Linked DNA regions of Homo sapiens: region 2 is linked to region 1. Evidence: promoter capture Hi-C in human tissues and cell types (Jung and others, 2019). All regions are on one chromosome and are shown on one strand. Each heading gives the region's core, a stretch centred on a gene start or on the middle of the fragment in contact. The rest is flanking DNA. Distances are from core to core; before and after follow the strand shown.

The links. Contacts are between HindIII fragments. The study calls those that stand out against the background at their distance.
Region 2: a fragment that was not itself captured here is called in contact with the fragment with the promoter of AIRE in region 1 in 1 of the 25 tissues and cell types used here (dorsolateral prefrontal cortex).

Annotation. Positions count from the first base shown.
Region 1 is chr21:44,284,531-44,287,246 of GRCh38, reverse strand. It overlaps AIRE (autoimmune regulator), which reads right to left and starts at 1,371. Exons shown (of 14, transcript NM_000383.4): 1 at 1,109-1,371; 2 at 516-690; 3 at 114-269. The coding sequence starts at 1,240. RefSeq lists enhancers at 1,892-2,493, 2,494-2,716. The HindIII fragment of the contact is 44,459 bases long and covers 1-2,716 here.
Region 2 is chr21:44,074,967-44,077,682 of GRCh38, reverse strand. TRAPPC10 (trafficking protein particle complex subunit 10) reads right to left here. Exons shown (of 23, transcript NM_003274.5): 9 at 2,530-2,644; 10 at 1,055-1,131. Among named protein-coding and RNA genes, the nearest start is that of PWP2, 31 kb to the left of the region's middle. The HindIII fragment of the contact is 7,831 bases long and covers 1-2,716 here.

The DNA of each region.
Region 1 (2,716 bases), core at 122-2,621:
CAGGCTGGCCCCACACCCAGTGGGTGGGAGCCCGGGTGGGGAGGGGGCGTGGGCTCCCGGGGAAGCCCGGGAAGACTGGAGACCCTGGCTGGCTTCCCCTGCAGGGAGGGTACCTGGGCTGGCGGTGCCCCTTGGAGTCAGGGCTGCTGGCGCGGCAGCTCGAGCCTCTTCTGAGGCCTTCCTCTTGGTGGGGAGTCTGGGTGGCGGTACCAAAGCCTTGGGGACGGCCGGGGGCTTCCTCCCCTTCCGGGGCTGGCTGAGGTCCACATCTGCAGCTCAGGGGCAGGAGCAGGGTCCCAACCTCAGGGTTTTCTCCAGGGGTAGGGTGGGCCCCAGAACTGGACACCTTGGCCAGACAGGTGAGGCCTGGCCCCTTTGCCTCTTAGGATCCAAGACGGTCCTGGAACATCACCCACGGGCTCCTCAAACACCACTCCGGTTCCAGTCCAGCTGGGCTGAGCAGGTGACAGCAGCTGCCCCAGGCCCCCAGCATGGCTGAGTCCACCAGGACCCACCTTTGGGGAAGCTGTCCAGGATGGGCTGCAGCCGGCCATAGCGCTCCAGGTTGTAGTCCTTGAACAGCACCCTCCAGAAGTCCAGGATGGCTGTGGAGTCCTGGGTCAGCAGCCAGGACAGGAGGGCGTGGAAGGCCTGGGGGCAGCCCTCCTTTTCCTTCAGATGAAGCGTCTCCTGCAGTGGGGTGGCATGAGGGTCCCTGCCATGGTCCCCCACACCCTGCGGCCTGCCCATCTCCATCATGACTAGAGGGTGGAGCTCCCAGGCAGAGGCGCTGGCGACCTGGACAGCTCCACGCCCATCTCCTCGGCTTGTGGTGGAGTCAGGTGGTGGTGTAGGGGTGTTGAGGGTGGGGCTGGGGGAACCTGGAGGCCATTCCCTTGGCTTGGGGGTGAGGTGTGGGGACGGCTGGGGGAAGGGGACCAACTTCTAACTTGTCATCAGGGACGCCCCTGGCTCCTTGTGGGGAGGGAGTTGGGGAAGGCTGGAGGGGCTTGGGGATCTGGAGGGGCGGGGTCCTCCTGGAACTTCCCCGGGGACTATCCCTGGCTCACAGGGCCTGGGGGCAGCGGGGGGCGGGCGGGGAGCCCACCTGAAACTTGTCCTCGGGGACCACGTCGTGGTCAGCCAGCGCGTGCAGCAGTGGGAAGGCGCTGTCCACGGCCACCGCGATCTCCGTGCGGTGCAGCCTCAGAAGCCGGCGTAGCGCCGCGTCCGTCGCCATGGGGTGGGCGCGGGGACCCGGGGCTGGGGCGGACGCGGTGGGTCCCGGGACACTGGCAGCCCCTCGCTTGGCCTCGGGTCCCGGCGGGGCTGTGGGGCCTCCGCGCCGGCTGTGCGCCCGCCCGTCTCCCCGGTCTGCGAGCCACGCGCGCCGCTGTTATACCCCCGCGACCACGCAAAGAGCAAAGGCCGCTCCGCCCCGGCGCCCAATCAGGGCCAGGGCCTCCCGCAGGGACACTTCCCTGTGATGGAGGCGCTGCTGTCCCTCCCTCGCTCTCGGGAAGTCTCCGGGCCTGGCCTGACTCACCCACCAGGGCAGCTGCCTTGGGGGCTGGGGACAGAGACTCGCTCTGTGCGGGACTCAGAGAACTCTCACTTCCGAATGTGGCCCTGTCCTGCCTCGGCGAGGGCCCTGCTCGAATGGGGCAAAGCCGAGACAGGTGCCCTCGGCGGGGAGGCTCGGGTCTCAGGGCCCTGGCAGGGGCTGCCCAGGGTGCACCGGCCCCTCCCAGTGGCCGGCAAGAGCCTCCATGGAGGCTGGATCGGGGTGGTGTTCCTGGGGGACCTCCACACAAGCTGAGAGCCCCTACTCAGGGGCCCGCCTGGGGCTGTGGGAGGAGCCCGATGGAGGCTCAGTCTGATGCAGGAGACGGTACGGCAGCCTGGGTGTTGCCAGGGAGCTCCTGACCTCACCATCTTAGGCTAGCTGTGTGACGCCAGGCAAGTCCTTTCCTTCTCTGAGCCTCGGTTCCCTCATCTTTAAAAGGGGCACACTCGCCTGGGGATTGAGGCTCGCATTGACCCCCTCCTTCCTTCCTCCAGGTGCTTTAGAAGGAAGGCGGCCAGCCCCACAACGGGGGTCCTGAGTGTGGCCCTGAGTGAGAGCTCCCAAAGGGTCTTCCTAGGACCAGTGACAGAGGCTGAGGGATGCTGTGGCCTGGACAGGAGCTTCCGGGGGCATCTGGGAAGGTGTCCGGGAGGGGAGCTGCAGTGGACAGGAGCCGAGGGTCCCAGGTGGACGTGAGTGGGGACAGTGCCCCCAGTAAAACAAGACCAGGTGCAGAGGCCTGGGGCCTGCAATGATGCTGAGGCTGTGGTGGCCCCGCAGGCATGGCCTGGAGGGGGGGTGGCCTCAGTGGGAGGCCTTGGTAACAGTCCCCTTGTCTGTGCGGTCAAGCCAGGGAAGCAGGCCCTGTGTGCAGGCTGCAGAGAACCACGAGAGGTCTCTGGGCACGAGTGTTCCCACTGAGCCAGAGAACGAGATGACCTGGCCAGCATGGATTAGGGCTGAAGGGTGGACGAAGGTACCAGGAAGCCTGAATCCAGGCAGCACTGGGCTGGGGGCTAACTGATGCAGTGAGAGACGCCACCAAGATTCCCACGTGGGCAGGCGTGCCGTTTGCTTTTGGGCAGCCAGAGTCCAGGATGGAGAGCGGCAGACACCTCTCCTCTAGACCAGGGGTCGGTCTCGGTTTCT
Region 2 (2,716 bases), core at 61-2,560, 210 kb after region 1:
GTAAAAACACAATTATGTACTTGAACTTTTAATGATGGACAAATACTACATTTATTCACCTAAAGCTCACACAAAAGACATTGTTGGGTTTTTGTTTTGAGACAGAGTCTTGCTCCATCGCCCAGGCTGGAGCACAGCGGTGAGATCTCAGCTCACTGCAACCTCCGCCTCATAGGTTGAAGTGATTCTTGTGCCTCAGCTTCCCAAGTAGCTGGGACTACAGGCGCCACCAGGCCCGGCTAATTTTTTGTATCTTTAGCAGAGACAGGATTTCACCATGTTGGCTAGGCTGGTCTCAAACTCCTGACCTCAAGTGATCCACCTGCCTCAGCCTCCCAAAGTGCTGAATTACAGGCGTGAGCCACCATGCCCAGCCCGCAGAAGACATTGCTAATAATGTAACATTATTTTTTCCTTTGCATCTATTTTTGTGAATTTTTCTGTAATATATAAGCAAAATTGGTAACCTGTGTATAAATTATGAAGCATAATAATAAAAGAAACCCACAAACTCATCCAAAACATCTAACTTTTCCAAGGACTTTCTGCACGTGGGTGACATGCTGGGTATTTTTCATACTTGTGTGTATAAGAGGTACAGCCATTACGGGCAGACCAAACGCTCAAGTTGCCCATGACCCGGGAATGACGCTGACCCACCACACTTCTGCCTACGCCGTTTTTTAAAGTTTTGCTAATTTAAGTCTTTCAAAATCAAATACAATAGCTCTGCCCAAGTCCAAATTACTCCTTTTTACAAAGAAAAGTATTCACTAGCCTCTCTTATAATTTCTGTGTGAGCAAACCCAATTTGAACAAAACGGTAAATATTCAAAGATGATTCCATGCCTAGCATGGTACCATGGGCACTAATACACATTTGATGAACTACTCCATGTTTTGTCCACAACTCCCCAGGTACCAAAGAAACTAAAAAAAACCAACAAGAAGGGGCCCCCCACACCAGTTCCTTCCCAACTCAACAGGCCATGTAGCAAAGCCTTCTAGAGACAGGTATTCACAGAACAGACATTGAACACTTGTTAATACTTACTAAGTAGTGTTTTTCAAAAGCTTCCACTGACGATAATGCTTCTTTCAGTTTCTTATAAGGACTCTGAGCTGTGTTGGCTTAAACAGAAAGAAACGAGAGTCCCTCTTCATCTTCATCATGTCCAGTCACATGACTTTACATTCACCTTCACATACTGCAGGTAGATGACCTCATCTGACTCTTGTGAAATTACAAACCGGCCAATGCCAACGGAAACTACATGATTATGTACATTCTCTTTCAATTCACATATTCATAAAATAGTCAAAACGCTTTGTGTCATGCTTTTTCTCTGATCTTTAGAACTAAACTTTTTTAGAAACATATATTACAAATACTCCGATGAATTAAATTACTTCCGAAGTGATCTGAAATGGTCTCAAGTTGAAACAATGAAATATAAATACTACGTATTTTTTCCCTTAAACATTTATTCAATTTACTAAGAATGTTTTCAGCTCATCAGATATTCTTTAGCAACAGTCTTGCTAAATAATACTCATCATATATTCCTACGTAAAACAATGAGTAATCCTCCTTTCAAAGAGCCTTATTATCCAGGAGAATTTTTTTTTTTTTTTGACAGAGTTTTGCTCTTGTTGCCCAGGCTGGAGTGCAATGGAGCAATCTTTGTTCACCACAACCTCCACCTCCCAGGTTCAAGCGATTCTCCTGCCTCAGCCTCCCGAATAGCTGGGATTACAGGCATGCACCACCACACCCGGCTAATTTTGTATTTTTAGTAGAGATGGGGTTTCTCCATGTTGGTCAGGCTGGTCTCGAATTCCTGACCTCAGGTGATCCGCCCACCTCGGCCTCCCAAAGTGCTGGGATTACAGGTGGGAGCCACCGTGCCCAGCCAATTTATTTTAAAAAATTTGCTGGGAGGCCAGGGCAGGAGGATCACTTTAGGCCAGGAGTTTGAGACCAGCCTGGGCAATACAGCGAGACTCCATCTCTACAAAAAATTAAAAAATTAGCCAAGTATGGTAGCACACACCTGTAGTCCCAGCTACCTGGGAGGGTGAGGCAAGAGGATCCCTTGAGCCCAGGAGGTCGAGGCTGCAGTGAGCCAAGATTGTGCCACTACACTCCAGTCTGGGCAACAGAGTGAGACCCTGTCTCTTAAAAAAAAAAAAAATCGTCAGGTCGTATTGTTAGAAAAACAGATCATCTGTAATTCAGAGAGACAGTGGTGCATTTGAACATGAGCTATAAAGTCCCTTAAGCCCAGGAGAAACTCAGCTACATTTCTGAAACTCCTTCCAATTTCTTCAACTATTTCTAATATTGCATTATGCTGTTAAAAGGTAAACTATCATGTGCTTTAATCCAGTCAGCTAACAATGGGTATAATTTTCCAAATGGTGAGTAATATGATTACTCTTAGAACTTCGGTTAAATGTGCCAACTTGCAAAGGACATTTTCATTACTGTCCACCTCACCACTCACACAGGTATATACAAAAAAGTACCTGTTTCTGGTCGCTCAGCTCCCAAACCTGCCAAAAGGTCAACTGTCCTGTTGAGATCTTCTGAGTTAGGTCCTTTCTCTGACACAAGTCCACATAGATAGCCCAAGGACTTTAACTGTTAAGATAAATCCACAATTTCAATTAATTTGCCGTAAGAGTCAGCAGGGAATTCAAGAATTTAAATATA